2 separate regions of the Homo sapiens genome follow, and region 1 is linked to region 2. Evidence: promoter capture Hi-C in human tissues and cell types (Jung and others, 2019). All regions are on one chromosome and are shown on one strand. Each heading gives the region's core, a stretch centred on a gene start or on the middle of the fragment in contact. The rest is flanking DNA. Distances are from core to core; before and after follow the strand shown.

Evidence for each region. Contacts are between HindIII fragments. The study calls those that stand out against the background at their distance.
Region 1: a contact is called between a fragment that was not itself captured here and the fragment with the promoter of AMPH in region 2, in 2 of the 25 tissues and cell types used here (dorsolateral prefrontal cortex and thymus).

Annotation. Positions count from the first base shown.
Region 1 is chr7:38,580,662-38,586,175 of GRCh38, forward strand. The region is part of intron 1 of AMPH (amphiphysin); the gene reads right to left. Among named protein-coding and RNA genes, the nearest start is that of AMPH, 48 kb to the right of the region's middle. The HindIII fragment of the contact is 3,796 bases long and covers 835-4,630 here.
Region 2 is chr7:38,627,636-38,632,730 of GRCh38, forward strand. AMPH (amphiphysin) reads right to left here and starts at 3,738. Exons shown (of 21, transcript NM_001635.4): 1 at 3,648-3,738. The coding sequence starts at 3,716. The HindIII fragment of the contact is 11,600 bases long and covers 280-5,095 here.

The sequences.
Region 1 (5,514 bases), core at 1,483-3,982, 48 kb before region 2:
GATGATGATGATGATGATGATGATGATGATGATGATGATGACGATGACGATAAGGGTCTGAGAAGTCAGGAATAGTTGTACTTGTTCTCAAAGCAGAGCCCCACACTGAAGTTCCTCTACCACAAAATCCATTTATGCCCAAAGCACCTAACTTTGTAGGTATAAGTCTGTACTTTAACCTCAGAATAAAATTAGGACATTCCTTTGATCAAAGTCACATCTTATTACAAAAGACTTTTTTCAATTATACCTTATTTTGCATACTCTGGAAAAACTTGGAGTTTAGACTGGGTTAAGCCTATTATATTTCTTTGATATGTTTATAAATTATTTCTCAACATGAAGACATAAAATGGTCTACTTTCCATTCATTCATTCACTTCAAATATTTACTAATACTCTAGTAGGTGCCAGGCACACTCAAGGCTGAGGAGCAATAGAAGAACAGACAAAAGAAATGGCTGTCATAATAGATTGTTCAGCTGTGGTTGGAAAATGAGAGGCAATTATTTTAAATAATAATTAAAATACGTCATACATTAAATGGCAAAAAAAAGTGCCAGGGAGAAAAATAAAGCAGGAAAGGGGGGAAAGAGTGTTGGAGGAATTGCAATCTTAAAATGGGTATTAAGGGAAGGCCTCACTTGAGAAGCTGATATTTGAATAATGATCTAAGGTCGACAACAGAGTGAACCCTCCAGATAAATGGGGACGGGCACTCTAGGACGATGACACTGTAAGTGCAAAAGCCCAGAGGTCCCACAAGGATGTCAGTGTGGGTAGAGGGGAACTGGCAGGGAAGGGTTATAAGAGGTAATGGAAGTAGGGATCAGGTCAGATGGGGTTTTGTGGGCCTTTTTAAAGAACCTTGGCTTTCTTTCTGAGTGACATGAAAAGTTGCTGATATGTTTGGGACACGATAGAGCCTCACTCACCTTTTAACAGGAACAGACTGATGGCTGTGTGAAGAAGAGATTCTAGTGGAGCAAGGAAAGGACAAGGGACGGTTAAGAGGCTCTGCAGTAACTCAGGCAGGATGTTACGGTGTTGGTAGTAGTGGAGGTGTAAAAATGGTAGCATTCTACATCTATTTTAGAATTTGATGCAGATGAGCTTGGCTGATGGACGAGATGAGAAGCATGAAAGAAGGCCTCGAGAATGACTCCATGTTTCTGGACTGAGCAACCTGAAAGATGGGATTTGCTGAGGTGAAAACGACTATAGGGGGAAGAGGTTTGCAGAAGACGGAGATGGGGTGCTCATTTTTTCATGCACTAAGTTTGAGATGCTATTAGATGCCTAAGAAGAGATGTCAAGTAGGCAGCTGGATACACAGATCTCAAGTTCAGAAGAGAGGCTGAGGCTGGAAATACATGCCTGGTATATAAAAACATGAGGTTGAATGATGTCCCCACAGAGTGAATAACATAGATTAAAAAAAGAAAAGAAGCCCGAAGCCTGAGCCATGGGAAACTCCAACATTAAGAAGTCAAAGAGATAAAAAGGAACCAGCTAAAAAGGAATTGAGTCTAGTACCCTGGAAGCCAAATGAAGAAAATAGTTCAAGGATGGGTAAATGATATATTGTGCCAAATAATTCTAAGAGATGGAGAAGTGACCACTTAATTAAACAAGGTGGAGGTCACTGATGACCTTGACAGCAGTTTAAGTGCCATGGTCATGTAGAAAGCCTGACTAGGGTGGGTTCAAGATAGAAGAGGAGAAATAAAAAAGCATATAGATCAGGAATTATTAGATCATGTCCAGGCACCCCTGAGGGGTTCCCAAGAGCTTTCCATGCATCAACAGAGTCAAAACTACTCTTATTCTTTCATAAGTTTATGGCAGAGTTGTTCAAAGATTCCATGACATATAGATGACATCCTGTACTGACAGCTAATGAGATGTGTGCTTGTGTATTATGTTTTAAATGTTTTTAATTTCTAATATGGGAAATACTAATGAATATAACCAAAATAAACTACAATTCTTTGGAGGTGTTTTTAAGAGTTGTAAAGAGGTCCTGAGATCAAAAAGTTTGAGAATGGCTGAGTAGACAGACAGACATGCATGCATATACTTATAGCAAAGCTTTAGCCTCAGAAGTCACATCGGGGACGCACAGGGTCCTAGTCAAAAGCTGATTCTATTCAGTGCAATATGTGACTGTCTGAAAAGCTCTAGCCTGAAACAACCTTATTTATTCAGGGCCGGATGTCAAAATGAATAAGACCATCCTTCACTCAAGCACAATTTGGTCCATAGATTCAAATTCTCTTTAGCATTATTATATTTTTGTCTAAGGGGAAATTTAGTTTAGAATGGTTCACCACACATAAGAGTCAACAATGTATTGACAATCTCATGGTTTATTACTGATGGGAATAGGGAATTATTTTAATAAAAGATTAAGGTTAAAAGAATCACCACCATCCCGCTTATTCATTTTCAAGGATAATATGCATCAGAGCTCCCTTTCACTCAAAACATATGAAGAGCCCAAGATTACATTTCTGTATCTCTGTGTAGTAAAAAGAACAGATAACTTTAGAAATCAACAGACCTGGGCTTGCCCACTTCCTAGTTCAGTGACTTTGGCAACATACTTGACACCTCTGAGACTTTATTCTTCAATCTTTCAAGTAGAGATTTCATAAGTTCGTGACAATCAAATAAAATATGCTATACAAAGAACCTAATAGAAAGCCTAGCGAAAAGTAGCTATTCAATAAATAGTGAATTTTTTTTAGTATTTCAGTAACTAAGCACAAGCCACACACCTTTTAATACTTAAACTTGAAATAATAATATGAAAACACTTGTTCAAAGCAAGAGAGAATAAAGGATTTATTGAGACAATACTTACATGTAGACATTCATAGTGAAGCCTTCTGCATTCATTTTGAGGATGAACCCCTCTGTACAGGATAGACATATTCTATCAGGTATTTATTTCCTAAATGCTATTGTGTGCCAGGCACTGTGGTGGACAATAAGAATACTAAAGAAAATAAAGCAGAGCCCCTGCCCCCAGGGAAGCTCACAGTCCACTAGGGAAACAAATTCTGAACAAAACTGCAATAGAGAGGGATAAAGCTGTGTCAGCCATGCACTGGGTGCCCTGGAGGCAGAGTGAGGGGGGCCAGAAGCCCCTGCACTGCTTACTACCCACCAAGTCCTATAATCTTCCTTCCAGTGAGTAACAACTCTTGAAAAATATCCCTAAAGAACCCTGCTACTACCATTGCCATTGACACATCTCTGAACTTACTGAGTTCTGCTCTATAATGACAGGGTTAGAGAGAGACAGGATGGTCATGTGTTTCCGGGGTTTAGAATTTGATTAGCAACAATCTAAATCCATGGAAAAGACTTGCTTATAACCAGTTTATTTTTACATGTGCATTTCTTTTTTTAAAAAAATAAGGTCATTAAGAGCCCATTTGTTTTTATATATTTGACTTGTTTCAATTCATTTTAGTCATTGTCCTTTCATGCTCTTATTGCAGCATTTCAGGCTACTGGGAGCACCTTCATGTTGGCCTCTGTGTCCTTTTGAAGTGACTCCAGGTAGTCTTTGACAGCCTCCTTGCTTCAGGGGATAACAAGCTATTCCAGATGCATCTTATACATTTCCTACCCACACCTAGAATCAGCTATTTCTGCAAGGAGCCCTGGTAGTAGGAAGTTTTAGTAGGATATGGTTTCGTTTAGTAAGAAATGTGGCACTGCTGCATGGCTGTCATTGCTTTGAGGCCTGAATATCATTCAAGATGTGGTCATGTTCATGAGATGTCGCCGCAGTGAGGTTAGTCATTTACTACCACCTAACACCGTCCTTTTCTGACAATGCCGTCCATGAGGGGATGTCCCCTGAAGGCAGTTATTCTGCCAAAAATCAAAGCTCCCTGCAGAGATATGCCATTCCTGAACTGGTAGGTCACTCTTGGCATATGATCATGAATCACGTCATGTGGCAGAAAAGGAAAAGAACCTCCTAGAGATTTGGAAGGCCAGTTTCTGACGAGAGAACTAGGGAATCAACATTCCCAGGCATCAGCCTTCCTGGAAATTTTCCCTCTGCACTCTCCGGGGCACACGGCCTGATTCCATCACTGCCTCAGCAGAGACCTGAGCAGATGGAGCTGAAATCTTGCAACTTCTACCTAAATAAAATGGCCATTATGTAAATATCGGGCTTGAATCCAGTGTGCAAGGGCATATGTGTATTTCAAATAGCCATCAGGTCTACATTTCTCCCACGTGCTTCAAGCTTTAAACAAAAATTTCCTATCCCTTCTGAGTAAGAATTACAAAGTTCATCTCTGAATTCTCCATGACAACCAAGAAAGGTGGCAATTTCCAACCTTGGGAAACAGCAAGCTACATGTTCCAACCCTCAGACTTCTCAGTCCATGATTCATCATCATAATCATCATCACAATTCACACAACTGTTTATTTACGGGGTGCCAGTTAAGTAAGAAGTATCTCATTTCCCCTCACAAGAACCCCATGGCATAGATACCACTATTATTCCATTTTTACAGTGAGGATTCTGAGAATCTACAAGGCCATGTGTTTCAAAACTATTAGGAGGCAGTGCCAGACTCAGGTCTGACTCGAGGTGGATGCCCTTAGCCATTACTCTGAGAAAGAAGGGAACAAGTATCCTTTCTCCAGTTGGCAGGACATACAGTAGGGAATATGACTTGGCCACTAGCTCCCAGCTAGTGGGGAGTGGAGATGCATAAACTCTGCTAACTAGGGCACTCACAGGGGCTTTTGCAAAGTAAGAAGATGCTGTCATTTGATGGTGACAGCCGCGCTCAAGTCATCTGTAGTACCAGGTCCTGACGACACAAGCCTGGCTTAAGAAAAATACATTCCCTTTACACATATGGATCTTTGAGGAAACAATGCAGAAAAAGTGCTTTATACTAGGTTCTGCTGTTATTTTACACACCACAGAGCCAAATTTAGCCTAAGCTTTTAATACATGGATCTGTCCAATAGCCTCACGGTCCACCGTGCCAGTGGAATTTTCCTGTCTACTCTTAATAGGCTATTTAAATGCAGCAAGGGCTATTTTTGAAACATTTTTCACCATTTGAGTGTGGTATATGGTAGAATTTCTAAATCTCAATAATGCTTCAGCACTGATTACTTCTTCTGATGGGAACATTAAGTATAAATGTATGCATAGCTGTGGATACACAGAAGATTTCATTTACATAATCCTTAAACCAGGGGATAGTGAAGTAGCAGCTAGCCTGAGAGATTTTTTTCTAAGCTTCATCTCTTTGCACTGAGATAACTTTCACACATTTCTTTTGAATTTAGCTTTCACCTTTTTCACCCTTTAAAATAATCTTATCCTACAAATAATGGCATGCTACATTAAATTACACCTAAAAGATGGCCACATGAAGTCCAGACATGGAACTAAAATATGCCTGGACTTCCAAATATTTCAACAGGAAGGCAACCATCCCAGCATTTGTTTAAATATGAA
Region 2 (5,095 bases), core at 2,488-4,987:
CAGAGCGAGACTCTGTCTCAAAAAAAAAAAAAAAAAAGCTAAAGGAAAGATATGGTCTGCATATACTTTTACATATACATATGTATAAGAATATGTATATAGGCTACTATAGGTAAGATATTCATATATCTTATGTGAATATATAGCTTTTATTCATTAAAAGCTAATCTAAATTTATATGTACAAGAACCATATATAAATTGTTAGATATTATTATTATTAGCAATTAAATTCCTTTTTTCCTTAAGCCAGTTTGGGTTGAGCTTTCTGACACCTGCATGTAGCAGGATCCTGACTAATTCAACCACGCAAAAGAGAAACCAGACAAAACCAACCAATAGATGTAAGCAGATATACATAAAACATCAACAAAAACATTTTCTCAGTAGAAATCACCAAACAATTTAAAAGTAAATAGAAAAGGAAGAAAGAATGGTTGTAACCCTTAGGCTTGATAAAGTTTTTGCCCTTACTAATAACAAGACAGAATTGCTACAGAAAACGGGCAGAAATATAAAAGCACAATTCAAGAACAAAAACACGAATGCACAAAAGTTTGCTTTTTAAAAATCAAACAAATGAAATTAATCATGAACAAATTTTATCCAATGACATAGCTAAACATTGTTTTAAATTTTATTATCCAGAGTTGGCAAGTGTCTCATGGACTGCTGATGAGAATGTAAATTGGTACACCTTTCTGGAAGGCAATCTAGCTATAATAAAAATAGGCAAACCTTGGATGCAATAAGTCTTCTTCTAGGAATTTATCTAAGGAGATAATTAAAGAGGTGTGCAAACATTCTCCCTACAAATTTGCTCACTGACTTGTATTTCCATATAGAAACACTGGAAAAATGAATATTCAAAAGATAAGGCATTCAGTATAATCCATACATTCCAATAGTGTTCAATAATTTAAAATATTGATGGAAAATATGTACATGTATAGAAGGATGTTCATAATTATGAAGTGAAATAAACAGGTCTTCAACTATACAGCAATGAGCCTGTTTTGGTTGTATAAATACATACACACATGGAAAAAGATCTACTCAGATACATATCAAATGGTAGTAAAATTTCCGAGTAGTAGAATTATGTGCTTCGTAATTTGCTGGAGTTTTTTTCTGCTTATATGTACATTTCAGCCTTGTGGTTTTTTTCTGCTGACTAATACATTTCAGCCTTTCTCCAATGAATCTTCACTGACTTTCAGTAAGAAAAAAACGTATTTAAAATTCCTAAAAAGCCATGTCACCTCTAAAAGTGATTTCAGACATGCAGTTGGAGCCTAAACATATGCAAGCTTTTAGGTGAAGCACAGATGATAAGAAAGTCAAGGGAGTGGACTCTCTTTTAAGAAAATTTGGTTGTAAAAACAAGAAGCAAAGGGTCTCAGGGACATATATGGTCTATAGTTATTGGGATGAAGAGTCTTCTCTGGAGAAGAGGAAGAGGCCAAAGGTGTAGAAAGAGGGAATCACGTGGGGATATGTCTAATGGAGCCTCTGACAGTAACATACTGTGCTTTCCTTTCTCCAGCAGCCTCCATTTGGGCTGGGCTGCTTTACCTGGATGCCAACATGCCCTTTTCTCTTTGTGCCAAGCATATCCTGATGCTACACAGACTCAGAAAGGGGGGCAGAACTCACCCTGGGGAAGAGCCTATACTCTCAGCCTCTTAGTGTTTGAACCTCTATACTAGGTGCGGCAGGCACTTTTCATCAGCACCTTTCCCCAGTGAAGAAAATAGGACGCTTGAAACCCCCAAGAGGGTCTCTCACCCCCGCTCCCATAGAAGACTGACCACCATCCACAACTGCAGTCATAAAGTACACTTGACCTTGATCGTGAAAAAGTGAGTTTTGACAATTCACAGGACTTGAATGCTCCGTAAGAGATTAGGTTTTCTTTTCATTTATTTTGAGCATATTAACAGCTGGTGACCTAGATTAAGAAATAATTCAATATGTGAAAAGGCAGACCATATCACTAAATTCCTTCACAGATGGAAAGTGGATTCAGTGAAAAGCCTCAGACCGAAGAGTCAAGTAATTACTTGGAAGGCAGGAGGAGGAGTACCTACAAGTGGGTAAAATGAAGTGTGGAAAAAGGATGACAAAACCTGGCCCAGATCCCAAGCCAGCAGATCCCTGGCTACTTTCTGCACAAGTAACCCGGGCCTGGAAGGCAGCAGGCAGCCTTGCTAATTCAGCTGCGGAGGGAGAGGCAGGAGGAGGATCACTTTAGTTCAGGATGAGCTTGGGTAGATATTAAAAGAAATACAATCCTCTTACTGCATGGAGAGTGTGCATGTGTGGAGGGAGGGACTAGAGGCAGCCACCAAGCCTCTGGGCCTGGGGACAAAAGGGATCAGTGCCCCCTCTGCTCAGCAACTCATGGTCAGCCGGAACTGGGAGGCAGCCTGAGATTGAGATTGGGTCTGAAGAGGGAAATTCATTGCCATCCTGAGCAACATGGCAAATCTGACTTCCAGTAAAACAGGAAAACGCTAAACACCCCATATCCTAGGGACGGAAAATACTGCCACGTGAAAGAGAACACAGTTCAAGTGATACCAATCATGGGGCTCATTAGCCGGTGTTGATTTTCAAGTACAATGCTCAAGCTACAATATAAAGGAAATGTCCTTTGCTCAGGACACAAATGAAGACCTCAGGGCCGTCATATACAGCAGTCACCAGGGAAGCCAGGCAAGCCTGGTGCCTGGTACAACTCCCCTCCACCTGCTTTGGGCTGTGCTTGCTACGGACCTGGGTTTCATTCATGCACGTCTCTGGGGAAAAAAAATAAATTACTGTGCGCAATTTACTGAGGGACTTGCAAAACAACAGAGAACCCAATTTGTGCAATCTGGATTTTTTAAAATGCAATAAAAGGTCCTTCTTTGTGCAGAAATATGCAGAAAGGAACTATTAGGTTCAGGTCATATTTATTTTTGACCTTCTAAAGAAGGACACTGGAGTCAAAAGGGACACAAACATATAGACCAAAATTAAAAGTGTGTATATCTAGATCTCTGTTTTGAACTCCAGAACTCACCAGACAGCACTGTGTGATCACGATCCTACCCTATTGGTCCTGGGAGATTTTTGGTGGCTTCTCTGTTAAATCGTTCGTGTCTGCTGCACTTAAGTAGCCACAAAATCCCCCGCAAGAAGGAAGGCTGCTGCAATCTCCCGCCCCGATCTGCGGGCCGCGTCCCCGCGAGCTGCCTGCGGGCGCGCTGGGAGCCGGCCCGGGGAGATGCGAGCGCAGGGAGATGCGCTCTGCTCCGGGCGCAGCGGGCAAGCTGCCGCACCTCCTACTTCTGTTGCCTGGCTTGGGGCCAGGAGAGCGGCAACCCGGGGCCGGCTCCGGAGCTGGACATATCCGGCGTCTCCGGGGCCAGGGTCTGCGGGTCCCCGGCGCTGCGTCCTCCCGACCCGCTCCCCGCGGCGCCCGGGTCGCGCCTTGCGGCAGTCACCGAGCTGAGGGCAGGGCGTCCCAGCGTCCCTGGCCCCGGCCCCGCTCCGCAGCGCGCCGCACCCCGAGGCTCGGGCCCCGCACAGCTGCAGCCGGTGCCCTCCGGCCAAGCCCCCGCCTGGCGTCCCCGGCCCCAGCCCCGGCCGCCCGCCGCTGACCTTTTCCTGCGCGCGGTTGAGTCGCTTCTGGACGTTCTTGGCGAAGATGCCCGTCTTGATGTCGGCCATGGCTGCGGGTCCGGGGAGCTGCGAAGAGCAGAGCGCGCAGCGGGGCTGGCGGCGGCGCGGAGGAGCGGGAGGAGGAGCGGGAGGAGGAGGAGAGGGCCGAGCAAGGGAGGAGCGGGAGAAGCGGCGGGGAGCCGCGGAGCGCGGAGGGGTGAGGGCGGGGCGCGGCGGCGGGACCAGCTTAAAGCGACAGAGCGGGGGCGGGATGCGTCGGGACTGGCTGTGACATGGGGAGAAGGGGCGGGGGAAGAAAGAGAAAGAGGCCAAGAAAAAGAGAGGGAAAAGCCAGAAGCCAGATTGTCTCCTCGATGATAGAAGAGTTTCGAGAGGAGAAAGGGAACCAAGCCTAGCAGAAGTCCCTGGGCCCAGGGGCAGCTCGGGGGTTCTTTTAATGCAGTTTGTATTTGGGGAGAGTGAGGGGACCTGATTCTTTCCAGCAAAAAAAGAAATAGGGGAGACAAAAAAGGGAAGAACCCTAGGGATGTGGAAGCCAGCTGGATTGGAACTGCTCTGAAGTGGAGCTGATGGGGCTGGTCCCTTGCTGCTCCCAAAAGTTTCCAGCTAACAGAGGCCCCTCCATACACCCTGGGTGTTGCAGAAGAAGGTATGGAGGTCGCCCTACCCTCAGGAGGCTCACAGCCCAGTGAGGGGCCCTGGCTGGGAAACCAACGAAGTCAGAGCTGCAGGAGAGAGGCGTGTGGAGAGCAAAGCGGGGAGAGACCATCGCTGACACTTGTTTAAACTTTAAAACAAGAGTTAGCAGGGCGGGGAGGTCCGCGTTGAGAAAGGTCAGCTTCCGGAAGACAGGCGATGTGTTTTGGTCATCTCCAAAATTCCTGTGCTGGGCAGAAACCTTAGAATAGACTACTCTTCAAGAAATGGTGCATGGAACAGTCAAGTCCCTTATAGCTTCGCATCAACCATGGAAGACCCAGTCCCCCCTAACTTGTTGCTTCCTTGGAAACCTTTTGGCAACCTTAACAGGGACTCACCATCCCTATTATTCTTATTAATGCTTGGGAGAAGTACGAATAATAGGGATAAACCTGCCCTACACCTAGAGCTCTTGTTGGCTCTGACCAGTGGTCAAACTATTCATATTCCATTCTCACTGAGAGTGTGAGGAGAAGAAGTCAGGTGGTGCCCTGCAAACAGAGGTCAGAAGTGGTCACTCACAGTGAATCCTATGAGTCCAGGTGAGCATCCTACTGTACCTCTGGGGGAAACTGTTACATTGGTAGACCTCAGCGAGCTGCCACCTGGTGTTCACTCTTGTGTCACCCTGTAGTCCCCTCACCTTGATTCTAGAATGATGCTATGGCCAGCTTTAATCAATAAGATGTGGTGAAAGTGACGCCATGGTAATTCCAGTCCCCCCCCCA